Linked DNA regions of Homo sapiens: all the other regions are linked to region 1. Evidence: promoter capture Hi-C in 16 types of primary human blood cells and fetal thymus (Javierre and others, 2016). All regions are on one chromosome and are shown on one strand. Each heading gives the region's core, a stretch centred on a gene start or on the middle of the fragment in contact. The rest is flanking DNA. Distances are from core to core; before and after follow the strand shown. Region 1 holds the start of ERVFRD-1 (endogenous retrovirus group FRD member 1, envelope). Region 2 overlaps TMEM170B (transmembrane protein 170B). Region 3 overlaps TMEM170B (transmembrane protein 170B). Region 4 has its middle 5.6 kb from the start of TMEM170B.

Region 1 (6,678 bases), core at 1,610-4,109:
GTGTTTCACTAGGGCCTCTTCTAGCCTGTCTAAGAAAATGGTGAGGTTTTCATAAGGCCCTTGATCTGTCAAGCCCAATTTATTACAGTTCACAGGCTTTGCTCTGCTAGCTTTCATTCCTTCTATCAGATAGAGGAACATGTGGGTCCTTGCTCATGTACTCCCCTGGATATTGTAATCCCAATTGGGGTTGACCTGGGGAACTATGGTGGCCCCCACAGGGTAGCCACCAGTGTCAGGCATGTGCATTGTGTTTGCAAATTGTTGGACCGCCACCATAATGGAGTCACATTCTCCCTTAGGCAGAGTTTGCCCTAGTATGACTGAGAGGTCCCTCCTGGTGAGTTCAGATGTTAAGCCCAGTTTATAAAACACTTTGATATATTTGTCAGGGTCCTCCATAAACTTCCCTAGTTCCATTTTAATTTGGCTCAGGTCTTGCACAGTGAATGGAGTCTGGACTCCAGTGGGTCCACTGGGACCACTAAACCTCCTGAATGGGGCATAACTTAAGGAGGTGGTGTCCAGAGGATGGCCCTGGGTAGGGAGGAGAAGGCTTCTGGGAGACTTCGATATAATTGGGTAGAAGGGGCAATGGGGCTTGAGCTCTGGGTAAACCTGATGAGGGGCCTTCTGAACCAATGGGAAGGGGCTGCATGACTATGGCCATGGATCTGTTTTACAAGCCCAACAAAGGTCAGGGTTGTTTCTTAGGGCCATGAAGGCCAGCACATAGGGGATTTCTGTCCATTTTCCCTGGTGGTAGCAAAACAAATCTAGTTGATGGATCATATTTAAATTTGTGCTTCTATTTTCTGGCCAAGATTCCTGGTCCTAGAGCTTTTATTCAACCCAGGCTGTATTACAGAAAAATATTAGCCTTTTCCTTTTTAGGGTTTGGGAGTCAAACTTTTCCCAGTTCTTGAGGATGTATCCTAGTAGTGTGTCCTGTGGTACAGAGACTTGATTACCTGTCCACAGAGAGAACAGAGGAGAGAAGAGAAAAAGAAGGCAACCCCTCCAATTTCCCTACTGTCTTTTTCCTGAACTTACAGCAGACCAGAGTGGGTAGGGCATTACCCCATTCATCCATTTTTCCTTTGCGTATGGCAGTGTCCCCCATTCATTCTAGGGGTTCCAGAATGAACCAGTGCTTACCAGGTACCCCTAACCTTGGTCCCATCTTGTTTTATTGAGGCACAATTACCCGTTTGTAAAGAAAGAACAGAGGCGAGAAGAGGGCATCTCCCCTTGTTCTCTTAATCCTGTGCCTATGGCAGACTACAGTGAACAGGGTGCCCTCCCACTCATCCAAGGGGTTCTGGAATGAACCCAGTGTTTACTGGGTACCCCTACCCTGATCCCATCCCATTTCTGGACCAGCCTTCATCTGTGTTGCAGTGGTAATCTGTTTTGTGTTTGTAGCCTGGAACTAGTCTTCATCTCTGTTCTATGGGTACTTTGGTCTCTTGCATCTGCCTCCTTGGGCTGTCCTATATCCTTGTCTCCATGACCTTATAGTGACCCTTGTTCAGAGCATTCTAGCAACAGAATGATTATCTCTTCTCAGATTCTCATTTCCCATGTTCTTTAAGAAGACGAGAAGCCTGTTTTTCTGCCAATTGCTGCAAGGGGGCTGGACTTCTCTCCCTTCAAATATAACTTTGAAGGTCCTGATACATATTGAGAAGGGCCTGGAGGTGATTAGAGGAATGGAGGAAAATTTGTATTTGGGATTCTTCATCCTCCCAGGGTAACATGCAGAACAAATGCTTAACGAGGTAGAACAATCCCTCTGCTACAGGAGAAAGCGGGAGGAAGCAAGAGGAATACTCATGGAAAGCCTTCATATGTTTGCAGAAACAGCAGCCCTTGGATTTGAGAGGGCAACGTTTATTTGCCCTCTTGATATAAAGGAGGAACCTCTGGAGGACTTGGTGTTTGGGATAAGACCCTGCAAACGGCAGAGAATTTTCCTTCCCCACAAAGGGGTGCTAACTCAGAAAAAAAGCGAGTGGGTGGGGTCCTTAAGGGCTACAGAGTGAGGTCCTATGCAAGCAAGCAAACCATTCAAAAGCCAGGGAGAAACATGGCCCTGGAGCATAACAGGGATGAAAAGCATATGGTAAGTCATAAGGAGCTGACAGAGCTAAGGTTCTGATTAGTGTCTATCCCGGCAGTGAGCCAACAGACAGGGAAAGGGTTGGAGGTCATCCGAGCTGGTAGGGTAACAAGTATAAATATCAAGGGACATCCGTAAGGGAGTCCATCTCTTGGTTGCCAGGCTAACACAGCAAGAGCTGCGGGTGCATGAATAACAAATAGGGAATGTGTGTTTAAGGCAGAGAAGAAAGTTGCAGGGCATGCAAAGTAAGAACAGAGAAAAGACAGACTTACCCCCAAGGCAGTTGGTCCAATGGGTGTGCGAGGTCATTTTGGAATACATACAGAGAAAGGAAAATAGGTGGTGGTGGGTTTTTGGGAAAGAGCTGATTTTAGTTGAAAAAGCAGAGGAAACCCCAGATACTACATGGTTGTAGGTTTTAGCCCTACCGCTCTCATCAGCCTCCTGTCTGGGGGGGCCATTAGTGTCTCAGGTCTACTTAGTGCAGACTCCAAGGTCCTTCCCACCCCTGCAAGCCATCCTTCGGGGTGAGCAGAGAGAGCAGCCAGGGGGAGCAGAGCCACTGTGGTTGAGAGGAATCGTTCCAGGGGTAGGTTAGTAAGCAGGAGAGTGAAAGAGGAGAACGAAACCACGTACGAGGGTTGAACGCCTCCAGCCGAAGAAGGCAAGGCGTAGAGGTGTCTTACCACTAGGGAAGGTATCCGAGTCACTGCACCATTTGAGAGATCCAAGTGCCCTGTTCAGCCCTTGACTTGGGGTTTTATACATCGGCATGGTTCCGGGGTTTCCATTTCTCCTCCTTGGATTTTTTTCCTTGGGGTGGGCTGTCTGCTGTGCAGTGGCCTGTCAGCACTTGGGAGGAGCCACATGTGCATTTGTTTACTGAAGTTGTGCGCATGCTTTCTTGAGACATTTTTCCCTTATCAGTCAGGTGTTCCTAGAGGAAGGTCACATACTGGTTAAACTGTCATTTTGCTTCTTAGTGCGCATGCTTGAGCCCACTTGCCCAGCTTCGGAGATCTTATCAGGAAGTTGCTGATCACCAGCTTCCGGTGTTTCCTGTCTTTTGGGAGACTGTCTTTCCCTGGTACTGGCTGCAACCCATTATTATTATTTTAGAGAAACAGTGTAACAACCGCCTGATCATCACCTGATGGTCGCCTGACATTCCTGAGCTGGGGGCCCTCTCCTGCCCTGCTCATGTCTGCCTGACTACCTACTCTAACAGAACCAGCTTAACCTAATGGCCTCCTGATAGAACTGCTTGCTTTTTTTTTTTTGGAGACAGCCTCGCTCTGTCTCCCAGGCTGGAGTGCAGTGATGCAATCTTGGCTCACTGCAACCTCCACCTCCCGGGTTCAAGTGATTCTTGTGCCTCAGACTCCTGAATAGCTGGAATTAACAGGTGTGCACCACCATGCCCAGCTAATTTTTGTATTTTTAGTAGAGACAAGATTTCACCATGGTGGCCAGGCTGATCTTGAACTCCTGACCTCAAGTGATCTGCTGTCCTTGGCCTCCCAAAGTGCTGGGATTACAGGCATGAACCACCACACCTGGCCCAAACTGCTTTCCATAAACATAAATTTACCTTTCTAATGTAAATCAAATCACACAACATGCTTTTTGTGTTTGACTTCTTTCTGCTAGCATAATGCTTTTGAAATCTATTTGTGTTGTGTATATCAGTAATACATTCTTTTGTATTGCTGAAAGAGTATTCCATTGTATAGATATACCACAATTTGTTTATCCATTTACTCATTGATGGACATGAGAGTGGTTTCCAGCTTTTGGCTGTTAGTATTATTATTGTTTTATTTATTTATTTTTTTGAGATGGGGTCTTGCTCTGTCGCCCAAGCTGGAGTGCAGTGGTATGATCTTGGCTCACTGCAACCTTTGCCTCCTGGGTTCAAGCAATTCTCCTGCCTCAGCCTCCCAAGTAGCTGGGATTATAGGCACCTGCCACCATGCCTGGCTAATTTATTTTATTTTATTATATATTTTTTTGTATTTTTAGTAGAGACGGGGTTTCACCATGTTGGCCAGGCTGGTTTCGAACTCCTGACCTCAAGTAATCCACCCGCCTGGGCCTCCCAAAGTGTTGGGATTACAGGCGTGAGCCTGTAGTAGTAGTATTAGTAGTTAGTAGTATTATTAACATTCAGTTGCAAATCTTGGTGTAGACATATGTTTTCATTTCTCTTGAGTAACTTCATTTCTCTTGAGAAACTGCCAAACATTTGCATTGCCAGCAGTCATGAGTGAGAATTTGTTACTCCGCATCCATCACCAACATTTGATGGTATTGTCTGTTTTTAATTTAGCCATTCTAGAGGATGGGTATTATGCTTTTGATTTTTGTTTCATTAATGACTAATTATTTTCAGCATCTTTTATGTGTTATTTGCCATTCTTTCTACCTTCTGTGTAAATCATCTTTACAAGTTTTTTCTACTCATTTAAAAAATTGTGTTACTTTTATCAAGTTGTAAACAATTCTTTATTCTGGATACAAGTTTTTTTTGTTTGTTTTTATCAGATATGTTTTGCAAGTATTTTCTTCTATTCTGTAGCTTGCCTTTTTATTTTTATTTTTTTGAGATGGAGTCTTGCTTTGTTGCCCAGGCTGGAGTACAGTGGCACAATCTTGGCTCACTGCAGCCCCCGCCTCCTGGGTTCAAAAGGTTGCCCTGTTTCAGTCTCCCCAGTAGCTGGGAATTACAGGCATGTGCCACCATACCTAGCTAATTTTTGTATTTTTAGTAGAGGCAGGGTTTCACCATGTTGGCCAGGCTGGTTTCGAACTCCTGATCTCAGGTGGTCCACCCATCTCGGCCTCCCAAAGTGCTGGGATTACAGGCATGAGCCACCGCACCCGGCTGCCTTTTTATTTTTAAATGTCATTTGTTTTGTGTTGTTATTGTTTGATAAGTCCTTCTTATCAAGTTTTTAAGGTATGACATATAAAGTTATTCTTTTTGTTTTTTTTTTTTAATTTTTTTGAGACGGAATCTCACTCTGTCGCCCAGGCTGGAGTGCAATGGCGCGGTCTTGGCTCACTGCAACATCTGCCCCCAGGATTCAAGCGATTCTCCTGCCTCAGCCTCCTGAGTAGCTGGGATTACAGGTGCGCGCCACCACGCCTGGCTGATTTTTGTATTTTTAGTAGAGATGGGATTTCACCATGTTGGCCAGGCTTGTCTCAACCTCCTGATCTCAAGTGATCTACCTGCCTCGCCCTCCCAAAGTGTTGGGATTACAGGCAGTTGAAGGTAGTTTTACCTTTTCTTCCCAATGTGTACATTTGTCTTTTAGCTTTTGCCTCATTGCACTGGCTAGGGCCTTATAATGTTGCAAGAAAGGAGTGAGAGCAGACCTTCCTCCCTGATCTTTTGGAGTGAAATATTTAGCCTTTTACCATTAAATAAATTATTAGCTGTGGGATTTTAATAGATATTCTTTATCAAGTTTAGGAAGAAAACTTCCCCTCTGTTTCTACTTTGTGGTGATTTTTCTTTTTTTTTTAAATCAGGAGTGGATATTGGATTTTTTTTTTTAATGATTTTTCTGTATTGAGATGGTCATGCACTTTTTCTCTTTTTTTTTTTTTTTTTTTTTTTTGAGATGGAGTCTCACTCTGTCGCCCAGGCTGGAATGTGGTGGTATGATCTCGGCTCACTGCACCCTCCTCCTCCCAGGCTTAAGTGATTCTCGTGCCTCAGCCTCCTAAGTAGCTGGGATTACAGGCGTGTACCACCACACCCAGCTAATTTTTGTATTTTTTAGTAGAGACGGGGTTTCACCATGTTGATCAGGCTGGTCTCGAACTCTTGACCTCAAGTGATCCACCTACCTTGGCCTCCCAAAGTGTTGGCATTATAGGCATGAGCCACCACGCCCGGCTGTATTTTTTCTCTTTTAAGTCTGTTAATATGGTGGATTTTGTTGCATTTCGAATGTGAAAGTAACCCATTCCTCAGATAAACCTGTTTTGGTCATGACATGTTATCCATTTTCTATACTGTAGCAATTAATTTAGTAAACATTTAAGATTTTTCTCTTTATATTCATGAGAAATACTTGTGGTTTTCTTAAACACCCTTGTCTGGTTTTGTCATCGTGTTAATGCAGACCTTATTACATGAGTTGGGTACTGTTCCTGTCTCTTTGGATTTTTGGAAGCATTTACATACAATTGCTATATTGGTTTTCTATTGCTGCATAACAAATTCCCATAAATTTAGCAGCTTAAGACAACGCACAGTTATTAGATATCAGTTTCTGTGGGTCAGGAGTCTCCACCTGGCTTAGCTGGGTCCTCTGCTCCTAAAGCTGCAGTCAGGGTGTTGGCCTGGCTGCGTTCCTTTCTGGAGCTTGGGTTCCTCCTTCAAGCTTATGTGGTTGTTGGCAGGATTCAGTTCCTTGTGACTGAGGACTCAAGGTGGCTCACCTCTTCATGCCAGTTGAATCTCTGACACCAGGGAGGGTCCCAATCCCTCTTTTAAGGTTTTTACCTAATTGAGTCAGGCCCACCCAAGGTAATTTCAC
Region 2 (6,678 bases), core at 1,947-4,446, 470 kb after region 1:
ACGATATTCAGTGTCTACCAAGTTCTTTCTTCCACAGGCCAAGGGTGCTTAAGCCCTAGCTGTTATTTTGTTTCTTTTATTTATTTATTTTTTGAGACGGAGTTTCGCTCTTGTTGCCCAGGCTGCAGTGCAATGGCATGATCTCAGCTCACCGCAACCTCTGCCTCCCAGGTTCAAGCGATTCTCCTTCCTCAGCCTCCCGAGTAGCTGGGATTACAGGCGTGCACCACCATGCCTGGCCAGTTTTGTATTTTTAGTAGAGACAGATTTCTCTATGTTGGTCAGGCTGGTCTCAAACTCCCGACCTCAAGGGATCCACCCACCTTGGCCTCCCAAAGTGCTGGGATTACAGGTGTAAGCTGCCGTGCCCAGCCTATTTTTTTTTAACTTCAAATACTATTATTTTAAATTTATGTTCATTATGTAATTCAGGGAGTAACGATGCCTGGAGCAATTTCTGAAATATTCTCAAACCACTTCACTCTTGACACTACAGATTTTTCTCTCAGTCTCAATCAGAATCTCTGCAGTCATTATTTGTTTTTAAGATGTGAGGGACGAGGAAAATTACTGAAGAAATTCTAGCAGATTTCGATTGCAGAGAAATTTGGTAACACTTTTTGGGTAACTGGGTAAATTACTATTTCTTTTAATAATCGGGTGAAACTCTGAATTGTTAAAACGGACCAATAATCAAATGGTTTTATAATCTTTCTTAACTTCCCGTCCTTGTTATAACATCTTGGAAGAAGACTCTTCAGGATAAAAAGGATATTATTTGATTAAAAATTATAGCATTTGGAGAGGTAACACACAAAAACAAAAACATATTTGACAAAGCGCCCTACATCCTGTGTTTTGTTAGGACTAGAAACTATACTGGATGAGTATGTATACTGCATGTTTACACATGCTGTGTTTCTTTATATGTGAGGCTTCACTGACCACCGTGCATTTTGAAATTGTATTGCATTTTGTGTGTGTGTGTGGTGACAGGTTTGCTCTTCTCACTTAAGGAGCTCTGGTCTGTGTAGGCAGTACAGTGTTGTTAGGGAGGTTGCTGAATTATCTAAAAATGTATCCATGAATTTGGGGGAAATAATGCTTAATATCTGAAGTATTTTCAGTAAATGTGGAGATATATCAGATAATACTTTTAAATTAGTGGAAACACATTTCTGAGTGAACTGAGCTATGAACTATAATCATCTCTTCCCCTGAGTTTAGGGAAGTTGTTTTCACATTCTTTACATTTATTGCACATATACTGAACTTACATAATAACTCTTCCCTGATTTTGAGAACGAATTTAGCAATTTCCTAAAAATCTTCCTCCTCTTTCCATACAGATGTCGTATGTTATAGTTTAAACATATGTACAATTTGTTGATAGAATCCAAGGAGCTGGTTTAGGAAAGAATACTCTTAACCCCTACAGTTATGCAGCTCTAATCTTACTGAAAAGTAAATACTTTAGGCAAGTCAGGAGAGCATGAACCTCATACATACATTTTTACGATTATGTACTGCACCCACATGTATCTACTCTTGGTAGTAACATGACTCCACCCTTTTTGGGAATGTATTTAGGTGGATAACTGAAACGGAAAAGCAGTTTGACACAAATACACAGAAAGAGGAATTGCGGTGCATAATCAATCGTCTGAGTCCCATAACTGTAACACTTTTTCTCTTATAAATTGGTAGTTCCTAAAAATCACCACTTTAAAAATTTTATTCTGTCTTGCTGAATTAAGCAGAAATCACTTTTTTTAGAGCCTTGTTTAAAGGAACGTTAACTCGAGAGTACTACTGATGATGACGCTTCTCTTGTTTTTAAAGTATTTACACATCATTGTTAAGTATTTTTGGAATGGAACATTTTAAAGTTTTCTCCATAGAAAGCAACATAGTGGCACTTGTTGAGTAAATGATCATAAAAATGACTTGCTTTTAATAGCAGATGAGTTGATAGTTTAACTGTTGACACTTTCTTAATGTTTTTGATGTTGGATGCATTTACAATGGAAGAATTTTTTTGAAAGATTTGGCCCTCTCACCAATACACACATTCAGACTTGAGCTGCACGCATTTAGATGAACAAATAGGAAATTCACGGTATTTTTTGTTTTAGCCATCCAAAATTCATAGGATTCTACCAAAAATATTAGCCCCTGACTCTAGTTATTCTGAGATGAGGGAATCAACTTTATCTTGAAAGTTAACTAGCTAAAATGTCTTTATTTAAATAGCAAAAATATAGTTTACCTGACAAGTATTAAAAGTCTCACTTTCAAATTGTGTTAACTCTCAGACCACTGATGAATCTTTTGGTAAATCACAGGCAGATTTTAAAAGCTAAATGAAGCCTTAGTGCCTTGAAAGTTAAGATACTTGTGCAAAATGGATTTAGCAAGATTCAGGATTGGCACCAGTGAGTTGGCTAGATACACATCACCAGTGACTGGGAATTCAAAGTTTAGAAAGCCTAACGAATAGTAGCTACTAACTTCATATGGTTCAATGTAAATCAGTTACTTAGTCATTGACTGTGACAGATGACAGCTACTTTCACTATATTTTCATGATGTGGTATTTTTCTCTATTTTTTCTTTTTCCAAGTATGAAATGGAAAAAAATGTAGTTAAGAAAATTAAGTGTGAGACTTTAAAATTTAGTTTTGTTGTAAACTAGAGATTCTAGTGAACAGTGTTAGTTTTATACTGTAGTACAGGGCACACACTTTAACCTTTAGAAATATGTTTACCATCAGGGATTTATTTTTACTATAGAAATACTAAATGTACTGTGAAGCTTAAAGACAGGAGAATAAATGTTGGAGGGGTAATACACAAAAACAAAGGCATATTTGATGAAGTACCCTGTGTTATGTGAACACAATTTCCCCTTCTGTTAAGACTATAAACTATATGAGTATGTGTACTGCATGTTTACATAAAACAGTTTAATTTTGAAGGATTATTTTAAAAACTATGTTTATATATAATACCTAACAAGCTGTAAATATTGTATATTATTGATTTTTAATTTTATATAAGCAATTTTTTATTTCCCAATTCATGTACAAATCTCATTATGTATATAGCATAATTTCCTGGAGAACACAAATTTTGCAGTGAATTTTAAGTAATTTTAATTGCAGTAAGCATCAGTTTAGCCTAGAGATGTTGATCTTTATTTTAAATTATTTTTCACCATTCTCATTTTCTTCAAAGGGCAGCAATAAACATATGCAAGTTATTTTTAATTATAGAAAGTAGGTCTACAAAGATAAGATCTAGGTTCCAATTCATTGCTTTAAGGAAAAGATGCACAATTACTATCATTCAGTGTCTAATCACAGGACCATTTCTGAGGTCCACATGTGGCTCTCCTCTTTGTAATATACAGGGTGAACTCTTTACTGATACACACAAGACAACTGTTAAAAAGTGAATCCAGCACTTAAATGTCATTACACAGAATTTATTGGATTAAAAATTTGTAATATACAGTATTTTAATAAAGTTTCTGTATTCAATTTCATGCACTTATATATAAATAAACCTGTCTTTGAAAGCTTTATGGGGTGTTTGACTCTTGGTGATAAATCTTTTCAATTCATTCACTATGGACTCAAATGTCTTCTCTTGCCTTTTTGTCAATTTTTCTGGCCCTGTTTTACCTACAGATTTAGGAGTTAGTGCTTAAAAGCTGAGAGGCGACCAGCTTGGCCAACGTGGTGAAACCCGTCTCTACTAAAATACAAAAAAATTAGCTGGACGCTGTGGTGTGTGGCTGTAGTCCCAGCTACTTGGGAGGCTGAGCCTGGGAAATCACGGGAGGCGGAGGTTTCAGTGAGCCAAAAACGTGCCACTGCACTCCAGCCTGGGCGACAGAGTGAGACTCTGTCTCAGAAAAAAAAAAAAAAAAAAAGGTGTGAGGCATAAAGTCTGGTTAATAGACTTGCCTAGGATCAATCCTGGGCCACATAGCATCTACTTCTGAGTTACCGTTTAAAGAAACATGCTATCAATTTTATTAATAAGGAGCTACCATTTGTTGAGTGCTTCTTATCTGTTAAAGACACTTCCTATGTATTCTTTAACACTTAAGGTAACCCTTCAAGTGATATGTTTTATCGCCGTTTTATAGATGAAGCATTTGAAGTTAAGAGAAGGTAGGAATCTGCTCAAGGCCACAGAGCTAATAATTGCCGGGCTGGGGTTTTCTTGCTCGATTACCTGCTTCCCCCAACATAACTATGTTGTGTTGGTGTCTACAGAGTATTTTGGGAACTCTTACCTGTAATGAGATAATATCTCATTACTGTAAAAAACCAGATGAAATTATGTGGTCTTGAAAAATTATCAACCGAGGATTTGAATTGTCAAATTTATGCATATTTTGAATGTTTGGGATTTCTCAGGGAAGTGCTAAGTACCCAACTAGATTCAACTGCTATCTTGCCTGTGAAGAGATTGGAGCTGACAGAGCCAGTCACTATAAATGTTTCAAATCTTGCTGGAATGAAAACTAGCTTCACTTTAAACATTGCGCAAGCATAATGGAAGTAAACGTTTTTTCACATACACTGACCTACTCATTCCACGTAATTACTCCGTGGAAATATATTTTCTTCTTCCTTGGTAATTTTTTTTATTCATTCACACTAATCATAAAATTATTCAATACATTTTCTCCCTGGCCATGAATGTTAACATCTTGGACAAAATATAAATCTTGAGATCCCAAAAAAGTTTTCTATTTTAGTTCTAGTATCTTTTTTGGCCCTTGAAGTAATATTTTTGTAATTTAAAAAAATAAGTCAGTTTTCTTTGGGCATTTTGTTATTTGCAGAGCATTCAAATAAGACATTAAATTTCGGATTTACTTATTTCAGATTTAATGAGTGATTGATGAGATCTGACTCTGTTGCCCAGCCTGGAGTGCAGTGGTGTAATTAGCTCACTGCAGCCTTGACCTCCTGGGTTCAAGTGATCCTCCCTCTTCAGCCTCCCCAGTAGCTAGGAATACAGATGTGCACCACCATGCCTGGCTAGTAAATTTCAGATTTATCACCACCTACATTGGACAAAACTACAGGGAAAGGTAATTAGAAGAAAGACGCTTTAGTCTTAAACTGAGCCTTGTGTTTACCATTATGAATGAGTCCTAGTCAGGCTTGTGGAGAAACATTTCAGATTTACTGAATACATCCTTACACCATCTGTGTTTTGCAGTTGAACCTTTATTATTTTGTTTTTGAGAGTGGATCGCTCACTGTGTTGCCCAGGTTGGTCTCGAACTCCTGGGCCTAAGCAGTCCTTCTCCTTAGCCCCTTGAGTAGCCGGGATTACAGGTGTGTGCCACCATGCCTGGCTTCAAACCCTTATTAGCTCATAAAATACTACATCAAGCTTCTGGGTGCAGAGGGGAAAGTAAACAGGATCCATGGCACCCACTCTTTGAGGACTAAAAATTGGGTTTGCCTCTAGCTTCCAAATGGAAACTTAGGAATCTATCCTGTCTGCTCTTAATTTTCTATGATTCATTGTCACTAGGCATTCTTCTTTTGGACAATTTTATGAATATTTTTCAGGCTCAGAAAGTTCTGGGGACTGATTGGCAAAATGTAATTGCATCAGGTGGTTTTCTTGTAAAGCAAGAGTTCCGTCACTAGATGGTGCAGTGGTTCTATTTTATTTTTCTCCTTGCTTTTGCCTTGGACATTACCTATGAACTGAAATTAACTGATTGTTACTTTTGGATTCATTTCCATATGATACATTTAATGTTTTTTTTCCAAAAGAAATGCACACCAGAAAATTAAATATGAGAAAAATTAAGGTTTCTTCATGTCATCACTAGCCAATGTAACTTTCCAAAGAATTATTAAGATAGGTTGTTTGCAAATTAGAAACAACCTATCAGGATTGTTTGCAAATTAGAAAATCACTTTAGTTTATGATTTTTGTAAGTCATTAATCTAGACTTTGATTTATATATTTTTCTTAAATTCCAACTCAATGCATAATGGTTTTATCTAATTTATTTATTTTACCTAGTGTATTTTATTTATTATTTAGAGAGAGTCACACTGTGTTTGGTGCCCAGGCTGGTCTCCGACTCCTAGCCTCAAGCAATCCTCCTGCCTCAGCCTCTCAAATAGCTAGGATTACAGATGCAAGCCTTGATATCTTAGTATCTAATTTAGTAGTCTACGCTTTCTTAGTGACATTTAGTTATACAGTTGGTCAACTTGGGGTTACGCACACATAGTGCAATCTGCCTTGTGTCATGAGACTCGGTTTTAAATTCCTGCTCTACCACTTAGTAATTGAACTTGTCCAAGTCATTTAACTTCTGCAACAGTCAGTTCTCACATTAGTAAAATGGAATGACATCTCATGTTGCACGCAGTGAGTGCTTAGAAAATAACCTTTGTCCCATTGCCCTCTTTCAATGTATTGTCTGCACATAGAGGGATGATGTCCTTCCAGCCTTTGCTAGAAGTTTTGGTAATAAGTTCAGGCACTTCTGTTTCAAAGACAGAGCCAGATTCTGTCCTGACAGAGAACAGTGCATTTTTAGGGAGGATTTGTTTTAGATTTAAACTGTCCCGTTGAACCCCGCACTGCTTTTGCAACAAAGCCTGCTGAGGGAAATTTTAGAAA
Region 3 (6,678 bases), core at 2,007-4,506, 450 kb after region 1:
TTTTTGCAAATTTTTATATTAAAATTTAAATAGAATAACTGAACTGTTTTAGTAAGCATAGATTTTAAATTCTACAAAATCATGCATTTAGGAAAAAATTGGGGACACTACAAACCTGAAATGAATGCATGCTGGGCTTAATACCTAGGTGATGGGTTGTTGGGTGTAGCAAACCACCATGGCACACATTTACCTATGTAGCAAACATGCATATCCTGCACATGCACCCCAGAAATTAAAAAAAAGGAAATAAAATAATTTAAAAAAAGAAATTTAGATATTTTTAGAACATGGTCAGTAATGTAATTGTGCAGGTAATCTTCACATTTTTGTACTTGGTATTTTCCTACTTTTAGTTTCTTTACTGCTTGCTTCTCACCAGTGTTTGAACAGTATGGTAGATGGACTAAACGTACTTTTTTATACTCCCAAACCTAATGGAATTATCATTTATCCAGTTGTTCACACCAGAAATCTGGGAGGCCAGACATCACACCTCGCTCATCTCTATCATCCAGGCCATCCGCAAGTTCTCCTAAATATTTCTCAAATTATTTTCAATCACAAAGCCAGTACAAAAATCCAGGCCTTAATTTATCTTTGTACTCTTTAAAATGGTTATTATTTATTCATTTATTATCATTACTATTTTTTTTAAAGTGACAGGGTCTCACTCCATTGCCCAGGCTGGAGTGCAGTGGCACAATCATAGCTCACTGCAGCCTCAAACTGCTGGGCTCAAGCGATCCTCCTGCCTCAGCCTCCTGAGTAGCTGGGACTATGGGCTTATGCCACCACACCTGACCAATCTCTTTGTACTCTTGAAATATTCTTATAGTCTCTCATCTCCATCCATTCCCACTTTTCCATATCTACCACAGTAATCTTTTTAAAAGGAGATATGATTCTATAACTTCTTTATTTAAAGTTTTTATTGGGTCCCCATAATCTTCAATTTTCACAAAAATTCTTCATTCTATATGGTCTATGAGCCTCTCCCCTTTCTTCACCAAAAATTACTCTGACTCTAACATACCACTGTAATTTACAGCCTCATCTTACCATATTTTTTGGTTTTAGTCAAACCCAGAATTCTTGCAATTTCATATTCTCTATTATATACAATTTCATGATTTGAACATTGTGTTTTAGAGCAGTGGTTTCTCATTCTTGGCTGTATGGGAACATAAGAAACGTTTAAATTTGGGCAACTTTAAAAAATTCCAGTGCCCAAGCTACATCGTAAACCAATTAAATCAGAATGTCTGGGGGTGGTATCAAGGCATCATCATTTATTTTAGGCTCTCCCAGGTGACTCCAGCATACAGCCAAGTCCCACCTCCCACTCCCCACTCTTATCGCACCTCCAACATGATTATCTAATTTGTTTAAATCTTGTTAATTTTTTAAAAATTCACGTGTGGCGATGACTCTTCTTGGGACCTTTCTTGACAACCCACACCCTTGCCACAGGGCTGTGTACCCCATAGCATCACGTACATACTGTACTCTGCAGAAACTGAGGAATTAGAACATATGTAATTGAAATGTCATTAATTGAACACTCAAAGTGCCAACTCTTGATAATATGTGAAACTACCTTGACTATAATTTTCAATGGGGGATGGGACAGCCAAGCCCAGCCCAGAAGTCAGCAGACATTTTCTGTAAATACAGTATTCTACTTTTAGCAATAGTATTTTATTTTACTTAAATAGAAAATGTAGTAAATATTAATATTTTTGGCTTCATGGGCCATATAATCTCTGTCTCAATTACTCAGCTCTGCCATTGTAGCTTGAAAGTAGTCATAGACTACTATGAATGAGTTTGTTCCAATAAAACTTTATGAACACTGAAATTTGAGTTTCCTATGATTTTTACATGTCACAAATTATTGTTCTTTATATATTTTTTTCTTTTCTTTTCTTTTTTTTTTTTTTGAGACGGGGTTTCACTCTGTCACCCAGGCTGGGGTGTGGTAGCATGATCATGGGTGACTGCTGCAGCCTTGACCTCCTGGGCTCAAGTGATTCTCCCGTCTCAGCCTCCTGGGTAGTGAGGGACCACAGGAATGCACAACCATGCCTGGCTAATTTTTTAATTTTTTGTAGAGACAGGGCCTCATGCTGGTCTTGAACTCCTGGGCTCAAACAGTCCCCCTGAGTCAGTCTCCCAAACTGCTGGGATTACAGGCATGAGCTACTGTGCCCAGCTTCTTGATTTTAAAAAATCATTTCAAAATCTAAAAACCATTCACGAAGACTATACAGAGACAGGTGGTAAACTAGATGTGACTCATGGGCTATATTTTGCCGACCCTTGATCTGTATAGCACTTTTCCAAATTATAAATGTATCATCTCTCTGAGAGTCTAGTAAGTCCCCTATGTGGGACATGTCCCCAAATTCAGAAGTCATTGCTGTTAGAAAATGGGTGCAAGTTCTACACTTCAGATTTGTTGGTATAATAAAAAGCTTGAAATAACCCAATTTGGACACAGATTATTTAAATATGTAATATGGACCATTTCTATAAAGAAGGTGATGGTATAAAGAAAGAAAAAATATATATATAAAATATATAAATGGTATTTTCAGCTTGATTTCTAGAATGTTTAGTGCATAGTAAGTTTTCAGTATTGACTTGCTAATGACTTTTAATAGAGAGGTTGGGTTCTCTGTATTTTTGAGGATTAAAAAAATAGTCTAATGAGATAGGTTTTGTTGTTTTAATGACTTTCGGAGTTTTAAATAAATACCTCTTATGTAACTTTATCCTAGAGTAGTGATTTCTGTCTCTACTGCATACCCAGTATGCAGTAATTCTCATGAGCAGCTCAAGTTGAGAACCATTGATCTAGCAGAGCATCTTCTCCTTTATTTTTATTTTTTTATTTTTTATTTTTTATTTTTTGAGACAGTCTTGCTGTGTCGCCCAGGCTGGAGTGCAGTGGCGTGGTCTTTGCTCACTGCAAGCTCCACCTCCTGGGTTCACACCATTCTCCTGCCTCAGCCTTCCGACTAGCTGGGACTACAGGTGCCCGCCACCACGCCCAGCTATTTTTTTTTTTTTTTTAATTTTTAGTAGAGATGGGGTTTCGCCATGTTAGCCAGGATGGTCTCGATCTCCTGACCTCATGATCCACCTGCCTCAGCCTCCCAAATCTTCTCCTTTGATAAAGAATAGAATGAGAGCCAGGCATAGTTGTACATGCCTGTAGTAGCAGCTACTCAGGAGACTGAGGCAGGAGAATCGTTTGAGCCCAGGAGTTTGAGTCCAGCCTGGGCAGCATAGCAAGACTGCTATCTCTTAAAAAAAAAAAAAAAAATGAAAAACTAATTTCTAAAAATATTATATTTGCAGTAAAAATGTGTGTAAAATATTTCAGACCAGTTTAAAATAGTAAAGAATGTATAAAATGATATCATTCATCTCATATCTTATCTCTAAAAGCCATTGTTAGGTCTTCTTCCATTTGGTTATATGTTTTCTATACAGATATGAAAATGTACTTTTTTAAACAAATAGGATTATACAATATGTACCATTCTTTGACTTGTTTTTACTCAGTATTTTTTAGACATCTAGAGAAATTCATTTCTCATAAATAATGTTGTTGAAGGATTAAAAACAAAAGCACAGAAGATAATTTTTTAGTGGCTTGGCAACCAGAGCTGATGAAAGTTACAGATTGGGAGCAGAGCTATTTCTAGTATTGTTTGGAGGCTGGAACAGATCATAACTCTGCTGCCTTTTACCCCACCAAAAAGTAACACACTGCAACAATCCAGGCAAAATTAAGGTGAGGATTATAGACAGTCTTGAGTGGGGAAATGTTACCAAAGGAATTTCTGAGATACGTTCTGGAAGAAGGGATATTCCCTTCCAGAGAATTATGGTGATTATAGGCATGAGATGCTTCAAAGTTTCTGTTGTTTTTTTGTATTACATTTTTAAAATGTTTGTTTTGTATTTTTTCAGCACTAGCAAAAGTCTCTCTGGCTTCCTCCCTTCATTGTTACCCAATTGCTAGAAGCTTGGATGAGGTGGGGTATGAGTGGAGAGAGAAAACTGTGAGCCTCTGGGTGTTCACTTTAGCATAGACAGTTTAAGAAAAGGCTGTGATATTCCACTCCTGTCTTTTTACTAGGTGTTCTTCCTAGGACCTTGGGCATCTGCTTTTGCTCTAGTCCTTAGGATCCTGCGGTTCTCTTCACCTGAACTAATCCAGTAGGTTTCATGTATTTGCCGATAGTGATTGGGCCTTAGACTTTAAGTCTTGCTTATCCAGAGTTGATCAAAATCTTTAGGGTCCCTGTTCACTCATGAGGTTATGTTGATCTGTCAGGTAATTCAAAATAATAGTAATAACACAAAACCTAACATAACTGTTAGGTTATGTTTTCTATCATTTTTTCCATCATAAAGAGTATGATTTTTTAAAAGAGAGAAAGAAATATAAAAGTAAATCTGACATTAGGGTACTTTGTTCATGTTCAGTCTGATGAAGGAATAATCCTGGACTGGTCATTGGAAGACCATTTGAAATTCTATTTTAATTTTATGATTATTTTGATACCTTTGGTTTTTATAAAACATTAAACTGAAATTTTACTTTGCCTTCTATTAGGTAGATTTATTGTTGAGATCATAGCTACATATTCAGTAGTCAAACAACACTACTTTTTTATAATGTCAGATAATTTCCTGTTCACAGTGTTAAATATAGTCAATAAATAAATTATTTCCTCTAATTGTATTATAAGAACTTTTTTAAATGGGCGTGAGGTACAAGGCGGATTGTTGACTTTTGTATTGAAGAGCCTGTGGTTGTTGCAGAGCCTTTCCTTGTCTCAGGGTAAGTTGAGAAAAGAGCTCCCTTGATGAAAATATACACCCCCATATTCTACTCCCTTATATTCTCACTTTATTAGGTTCACTTAGGAAAACTGTATCTTTCAATATGCAAATATCTGCTGAGCAAGTTGGGGTTTTTAAATTTTAATGTATTTATTATAAATTGAAGCCATTTGTTTGAGAGTAATGATCTGAAATACTGTTTCCCTGAATGCTGGAAGAGAAAAGCCTCTAAAAGGCAAGTTTTGTCTATATTTCCGTAATCACTAGCATCTATCTTGTATGCCATTGAGAAGCATGCATGGTAGTTTAACACACACTGTAAAATATATCAGATGTATCTTCTTTGAAATAATTTCAAATTGCATGAGTCCATTCTACGTGCCAGTTCTTAAGAATTTGGCAGGGTAAAGCTGATTTTAAAAAAATCTTTCTATTCTTTCGTTTTTTAAGATTAAACTTTTATTTTGAGATTATAAGAATCACAGTTGTAAGAACCAATACATAGAGAGCTTATGTACCCTTTATCCAGTTTACCCAATAGGAACATCTCAGAAATCCACAGTATAATATATCAACCAGGATATTAACATTGATGCAATCCACCAACCTTATCCAGATTTTGCTAGTATTTCTTCTACACTTGTACTCTTCTCTATTGTGTATTTAGTTCTATACAATTGTATCACTTACATGTATATCCACCACTATAGTCAAAGAAGAAATCCATTACCACAAAGATCACTCATGTTGCTTTTTAATAACCATACCCTCCTTCCTTTTTAAGGAGTTTTTGTTTCGTTTTAAAATTCTTAGTCATTTATGGTCTTGACCTAAGTATTTTTCAAATTTATATCATGCTTTTAAATTTTTTACTTTTTAAAAAAAATTGGTAAAAACATAACTGATGAAGCATACTCGCTGTTGACTGGGGGCAGTGGCTCACGCCTGTAATCCTAGCACTTTGAGAGGCCAAGGTGGGCAGATCACCTGAGGTCGGGAGTTTGAGACAGCCTGACCAACACAGAGAAACCCCATCTCTACTAAAAATACAAAAATTAGCCAGGCATGGTGACGGGCACCTGTAATCCCAGCTACTTGGGAGGCTGAGGCAGGAGAATCGCTTGAACCTGGGAGGTGGAGGTTGCAGTGAGCTGAGGTTACTCCACACCAGGCCCCCCTCCCCGCCAAGAAAAGGCACTCACTGTTTTCTCCTCCCTCACACAGATCACTTCTGTGACAAGTGATGTGTGGTTTTTTTCCCACACCAAGCAGTTCTCTAGGATACCAACTGGGTGTCCTACAGTTCAGTTCAGTTCTGACATTTACCTGGTGTTAGCATCCAGTCCCGCAGGTTAAAGGCACAGTCCCAGAAACGACTCCCATTTAGACACCAGTAGAAAGTCTGCGCTTCCCATATTTGTGACTGACTGTAAGTCGGGGGTTCCCATTGACCCCTCCTCAGGTTTCATCATTTGCTAGAACAGCTCATAGAACGCAAGGAAACACTTCACTGGTTATGGTTACTGGTTGATTTTAAAGGTTACAACTTGAGGCCAGGTGTGGTGGTTCTCGCCTGTAATCCCAGCACTTTGGGAAGTTGAGGCAGGAGAATTACTTGAGGCCAGGGGTTCTAGACCAGTCTGGGCAGCACAGGCAGATCCTGTCTCTACAAAAAATATTTTTTAAAAACTAGCCAGGCGTGGTGGCCCACATGTGTAGTTGTAGCTACTGGGAAGACTGAGGCAGGAGGATCACTTGATCCCAGGAGATGGAGGCTGCAGTGAGCTGTGGTCACGCCACTGCACTCCAGCCTGG
Region 4 (6,678 bases), core at 3,534-6,033, 420 kb after region 1:
ATGGACAACTGGAATCCCATCATGCTAAAAAGCTGCACAGCAAAGGAAACTATCAACAAAGTTAAGATACAGTCCACAAAATGGGAGAAATGTGTGCAAACTGTTCATCTGGCAAGGAATTAATAAGCACAATTTATAAGGAGCTCAATCAATTCAATAAGAAACAAGTCTAAAAATCTGATTTTAAAATGGGCAGAAGATCTGAATAGACATTCCTCAAAAGAAGACATACAAATGGGCAACAGGTATGTGAAAAAATGTTCAACATCACTAATCATCAGTTACATGCAAACCAAAACTACAATGAGATATCATCTCACACCAGTTAAAATGGCTTTTACCCAAAAGACAGGCAATAATGAACGATGGGGGAGGATGTGGAAAAAGGGGAACACTCGTACACTGTTGGTGGGAAAGTAAATTAGTACAGCCACTGTGGAGAGTAGCATTAAGTTTCCTCAAAAAACTAAAAATAGAATTACCATATGATCCAGCAATCCCACTGCTTGGTGTATTTCCAAAGGAATGAAAATTAGTACATTGAGAAGATATCTGCACTCCCATGTTTGTTGCAACACTATTCATAATGGCCAAGATATGGAATCAACCTAAGGGTCCATCAATGGATGAATGGATAAAGAAAATGTGATGCATATACCCAATGTAATATTATTCAGCCATAAAAAAGAATCAAATCTTGTCACTTGTAACAACTAGGATGGAACTGGAGGACATTACGTGAAGTGAAATAAGCCAGGCACAGAAGACAAATGTCATATGTTCTCACTCATATGTGGGAGCTAAAAAGTAGATAATTAAATGCACAGAGATAAAGATTAGAATGATGGTTACCAGGCCAGGCCCGGTGGCTTAAGCCTGTAATTCCGGCACTTTAGGAGGCCAAGACGGGCAGATCATTTGAGGTCAGGAGTTAGAGACCAGCGTGGCCAACACGGTGAAACCTCGTCTCTACTAAAAATACAAAAATTAGCTGGGTGTGGTGGTGCACGCCTGTAATCTCAGCTACTTGGGAGGCTGGGGCAGGAGAATCACTTGAACCCGGGAGGCGGAGGTTGCAGTGAGCCAAGGTCACACCACTGCACTCTAGCCTGGGTGACAAGAGTGAAACTACGTCTCAAAAAAAAAAAAAAAGATAATGAATGGTTAATGGGCACAAAAATTATAGTTTGATCAAATGAGTAAGAGCTAGTATTCTGTAGCACAATAGGGTGACCATAGTTTAAAAAAATGTATGTTTTAAAATAACTGAAAGAGCGGTATTGGAATGTTCCTAACACAAAGAAATAATGAATTCTTAAGATGAAGGAGATCCCAGTTACCCTGATTTGGTCATTATAAATGGTATGCCTGTATCAAAACTCACATGTACACCATAAATGGAATTATTACGTACCCATAATTAAAAACTTAAAAATTAATTTTAAAATAATTGTAATATTATGTACCCATAATTAAAAAATTAAAAAATAATTTTAAAAAAGAAAGAAAAAAGACCATTGGAAAAATTTACTTTCAGAGTTTCAATTTTTTTAATGCAACTAATATTTCTAGTTGAATTCAATTTATGATGGATTGGGTTAGGTACCCAATTGGACAGAACTTTAATATGGAGAAGAGTGATGGGGTAACATTTATTCTGTACGTTATATGAAAACTTAGAAAGTCATAATAAGTGAAGAAAGGTGGTCTGGATGAATTCTCTAGGAAACAGCCTTTGCCTGCTGCAAGGTGGCAGGATTTTGTGGGTAGACAAGATATACTCAAATTGTTTGTGTCTACAGAAAATTTGGATCATCTAGCTTTGATTAGTAAGCTGAATTTACCAGTTGACTTCTAGAAAATAGAATCACTGGAAACCTGGAATACAAAAGAATGCATTCTTGTCAGAGCAGTATTGGAATACTAATTAGGGAAGCTCAACCACTGAAGGAAAAGTCCCAAATTACAACAGGTTGCTAACCTAAAATAATCAAAATGGTCAAAATCTAGTTTAAGGAGAGTGTGTTCAAGTGCAATGGGGGGATGGCCCACCTAGGAAGTACAGATTCCAAAGAATGGAAGCCAGTGTTCCAAAGTGTAGGACTTATCTAAGCTTTAATGCCTCGTTACAATGATCTGATTAGCTAAGGTGGTCTTTTTCCCTTGAGAAAGGTACATTTAACATTCCACATGGAAGACGTAACTGTTATGGGGTCCTGAGCACCATCTAGTCTGAGTTAGATACAGGACAAAGGAGGCAGCTAATCTATAACAAAGATCAGTGATTGGAAGGAAAGATCTGGGCTCTGATCTGTCTTACTCATTTACAGAACAAGAACAGTGAGGAAGACAGTTAAGCTATAATGTAAGAAGCAGAATTCCAAACATATGACGTGACTCAGTCTCCAGGGCTTACCTTCCCTGTTGGCATAATAAATTCAGAGGGTCCTAAAATTTTATTTTCTTTTATAAACTCTATACCAAGGAAGTTCAAAGGGGATTCCAGATCAGCTGGGGGGCTCTCTGTCCTGTTCTATGCACTCTTTCAAGAAGCCAGGCTGATACTGGCTTTGACATCTTTGACATGTGACTTTCAAAAATACTGGAGTGTCACCATCCCAATGAATCAGAAAAGTAAAAAGAGTATGGAGCAACAGTTAAAAGAGGTTTTGATATGCCAGGCATGGAAGTGGCACACATCACATCTGGGCACGTTCCAAGGCCATACTTCCCTGCAAGGGTGGCTGGGAAATGTATCAGGTTGTATGCCCAGGAAGAAGAGATTTTAGTGAACAGTGAGTATCTATGCCTCAAAAGTCATTCAACAAGCAGATCTAAAGTTCCTGTAAGTTTTGAGCCTCAGAAGTCTTATTAAAACAAGGGGCAAATTGAGGAAGTAATGGTTAAATTTTGGGGATTTGGATTCAGACAGTATTGGGCTAGGTGACCTTGGCAGGTTACTGGCTGCCCAGAGCCACAATTTCCTTATTTGAAAAGTGAAGCTAATAACAGCACAACCTTAAAAGGGTGTTGTGAGGGTTAACAGTTTACAGACTGGTATGTGAAAGATAGAAAGTGTTAAATAAATGATAGTTTTCAAGCTGTTCATGACAACTCCACTTCTCATTTCAAAGCTTCTTTCAATAATAGGAGGGTCGTGCCTTCTGTTGAACATACTGTATAACCCAGGTGTCTTCAAATCTCCTGAATTTCTCAGATGGTTAATTTTGTGTGTTAAATAGAATTATGGTTAATTTTATGTGTCAACATGACTGGGCCATGGAATATCCAGTTATTTGGTCAAACATTATTTGGGGTGTTTCTGTGAGAGTGTTTTTAGGTGAGAGTAACATCTACATTGGTGGATGAAATAAAGCAGACTGCCCTCCCTCATGTGGGTGCCTCATCCAATCAGCTGAAGACTTGAATAGAGTAAAAAGGCTCCCCCAAGGCAGGCAGAATTCTTGCCTAAGTGTCTGAACGGAAACATTGCTCTCCTAGTTCTCAGGCAATGCAGTCTCAGACTGGAACTACACTATTGGCTCTCCTGGATCGCCAGCTTGCCAACTCACCCTGCAGATCCTGGGATTTGTCAGCCTCCATAATCGTGTGAGCCAACTTCTCATAATAAATGTCTTTCTATACATAGGCAACCTATTAGTTCTGTTTCTCTGGGAGAATCCTGACTAATACTCTTTCCCTAACTAAAATGCTGCATACAGTTGGGAGCCCCTGAAACCCATTTTCTTACCAATGTTTAGTAAATGGTCTAGGTTTGGGAGAAGAATAGGGCTATTTTTAATGGGCATTTGTCACTAAACTTTCATTTCTCCTGTATTCTCAATTTTATCACTTACCTTTCCTTAATACTATAGTTTCCACCCTACATTAAATTATTTCTTCATGCCCAAACATCACTTTCCACACTTTTACTAAAGGAAACAGTGTTATGGCCCAGGAAGGGCAGGTGACTCCCAGACAGCATGGATCTAAGTGGCTGGGAGCCAGGGGTCGGGGGAGAATTTTCACTGATTGCACGTCATATCATGAGAGTTTTGAGTCATATGAATTCATCACACTAAAAAAAAAAAAAGGTGGGAAAGAGGTAGATTCTTGCCCATCAAGAAAATCCTTCACAATTTCTTTCTGCTTGTTCTTTAAAATAAATAATTATTTAGAAGATTGCCATTTCCATACAGTTCTAAAAAATCTATTAATATTTAAATATTACAGTAATAAAAACTAGTATTCATTGAGTATTTACTGCTCCAGACTCCACTCTAAGCACTTAATTACTAAGTACTTTGATCCTCAGAATATCTCAAGGAAATATTATAATTAAATATATACTATCTATAATGAATAACAGATATATTATACATATAATAGAATATTATAGTTCAAATTTTACAGAGGAGAAAACTGAAAGTTACAGAGGTTAAGTAACTCACTGAATGTTGAATGTTCACTCCTGGTAAAGCAATAAAATCAGGATTAAAACTTAGGTAGTTTAGCTGTAGAAGTAAGAAATAGAAAAAAATATATACTCTTAAATCTGATGGAGAAGGGGAGGAAAAGGAGGTTATAAGGAAGTGGAGTTATATGATTTTAGGATTGCTGAGAGTGGATGGTCACTAGATACATTCTAAACAGAGGATGAAGTGTATATCAGTTATGGTCACAGAGATTACTATAAAATACAAAAACAAAACCAATCCTTTCAAATTATAAGGAACATAAACAAAGCAAAGGAAACACAAACCATACCCATGAAATACTTTTTTAAAAGAAGCAACAAAAATAGAAATAATAATATAACTATGATGCAAGTAATACCACATATTTATTATATCAACGACTAGAAATTATCTAGAAGTTCTTCTATTAAATTAGAAATTTCATATTGGAATACGATGTCAAACTCCTAAAACAAAATTATTCAAAGTTGAAAAAGAATGGAAAAATACATATCAGGCAAATGCAAACAGAAAGCAGGACTTAAGACCTTAACATCAGACAAGATTCACATAAATTTTAAAAGCATTTTATAATGGAAATTAATATATTTTTAATTTAAGAAAGCAAAATCACAAATCTTACATACATATGTGTTCACTAAAACACATAGAATCAAAATTCGTAAAGCGCAAACTACAAAAAGTACACAGAAATATAGGCTGAAATATATTATTTGTAGAAGACTTAACCTCACTCAGCCTGTGTTAAGACTGCATTATTTGTTCATTACCATTTGTTGCCCCCTCCCATTCATTCTTTCCATCCTTCTCTGTAGGCAGAATATACTTTTTTATCCCATTCACTTAGGGGCTTAACTATGCAATCTGCTTCAAACAAGGGAATGTGGATATGTGACATGCATGTGACATGGACCCCATATCTGAGCATGAACTTTAAATGCACCTGTGTAGTTTAGCCCTGCCTCTCTTGTCCATGCCAGAGCTGGGATAAGGATGAGGTGGGTGAGACAAGGTCTTGCAAGTGCAGGGTGAGATTCTGTGTTTATTTAAAATTTTGGTATTTCATTAATCATGGATTTTTGCATGAATTTTTATTTTTAAAAATATTATATTAGTATATTATTTATCTTGATAACAGAGTGTTTCAGAGTCTGTTGTCAAGACTTGCAGGCAAGGCTTTGCAGGCAAGGCCAGTGTCCCATTGTAGCCCTGGTTCCAGCCCTATACCATGAGAATGGCATGTACTCAGAGCGTGACATCTTCCTCAGCCTCAGGTATGAAATGAGAAGACCTGTGGAGCTGGACTGAGCTGAATCAAGCTGAATCAGTCTAGATTTTGGACTTGCATGGGGCCTGTAGCTCCTTTGTTGTGGCCAATGTCTCCCATTCGGAATGGCTGTATTTATCCAATGCGTGTACCCCCATTGTATCTAGGAAGTAACTAACTTGCTTTTGATTTTACAGGCTTATAGGCGGAAGGGACTAGCCTTGTTTCAGATGAGACTTTGGACTGTGGACTATTGAGTTGATGCTGAAATGAGTTAAGACCTTGGGGAACTGTTGGGAAGGCATGATTGATTTTGAAATGTGAGGACATGAGAGTTGGCAGGGACCAGGGGAGGAATGATATAATTTGGCTCTGTATGGTTTTATCAAGGGTCTCCACTTTTGCGTCTTCCTCATTCTCTCGTTGCCTGCTGCCACCCATGTAAGACGGGACTTGCTCCTCCTTGCCTTCCACCATGATTGTGAGGCTTCCCCAGTCACATGGAACTGTAAGTCCAATTAAACCTCTTCCTTTATAAATTGCCCAGTTTTGGGTATGTCTTTATCTGCAGCGTGAAAATGGACTAATACGTTAAGTTGATACCAGTAGAGTGGGGTGCTTCTGAAAAGATACCTGAAAATGTTTTTCTCAAAAGATCAATATCATTTTATATTTTAATTGATTTTAAAAAGCTTTCCTCTAGGTTGTCTCTGGACAGTTTTAAAAATGACTAAGGCTAATGGGTGTTCCCTCACTTACATGAGAGAAATAAACCAGGAATTTTGGTTTATGAATTACGTTTGTGAATTGTTTCATGCTGAAGGGCACAGAGTTGAAAGGAAATTTTTGGATTCACTTGGGGTGGTCCCTGATTTCTGACAGGAACGTGACTAAACTCTTCCTGAATTGGTGTATTAATTCAAAATAAAAAAT

The links. Contacts are between HindIII fragments. The CHiCAGO score rates a contact against its expected background, and 5 or more counts as called.
Region 2: a contact is called between a fragment that was not itself captured here and the fragment with the promoter of ERVFRD-1 in region 1, in 1 of 17 cell types (total B cells). The highest score is 6.4, in total B cells.
Region 3: a contact is called between a fragment that was not itself captured here and the fragment with the promoter of ERVFRD-1 in region 1, in 2 of 17 cell types (total CD8 T cells and erythroblasts). The highest score is 7.7, in total CD8 T cells.
Region 4: a fragment that was not itself captured here is called in contact with the fragment with the promoter of ERVFRD-1 in region 1 in 4 of 17 cell types (non-activated CD4 T cells, M2 macrophages, total CD8 T cells and 1 more); the score reaches 9.7 in non-activated CD4 T cells.

The regions. Positions count from the first base shown.
Region 1 is chr6:11,108,866-11,115,543 of GRCh38, forward strand. ERVFRD-1 (endogenous retrovirus group FRD member 1, envelope) reads right to left here and starts at 2,860. Exons shown (of 2, transcript NM_207582.3): 1 at 2,812-2,860. All of the region lies in intron 1 of SMIM13 (small integral membrane protein 13), which reads left to right. The HindIII fragment of the contact is 9,311 bases long and covers 1-6,520 here.
Region 2 is chr6:11,579,939-11,586,616 of GRCh38, forward strand. TMEM170B (transmembrane protein 170B) reads left to right here. Exons shown (of 3, transcript NM_001100829.3): 3 at 1-3,586. Among named protein-coding and RNA genes, the nearest start is that of TMEM170B, 46 kb to the left of the region's middle. The HindIII fragment of the contact is 766 bases long and covers 2,814-3,579 here.
Region 3 is chr6:11,557,269-11,563,946 of GRCh38, forward strand. All of the region lies in intron 1 of TMEM170B (transmembrane protein 170B), which reads left to right. Among named protein-coding and RNA genes, the nearest start is that of TMEM170B, 23 kb to the left of the region's middle. The HindIII fragment of the contact is 1,562 bases long and covers 2,476-4,037 here.
Region 4 is chr6:11,528,789-11,535,466 of GRCh38, forward strand. No RefSeq gene overlaps it. Among named protein-coding and RNA genes, the nearest start is that of TMEM170B, 5.6 kb to the right of the region's middle. The HindIII fragment of the contact is 3,303 bases long and covers 3,133-6,435 here.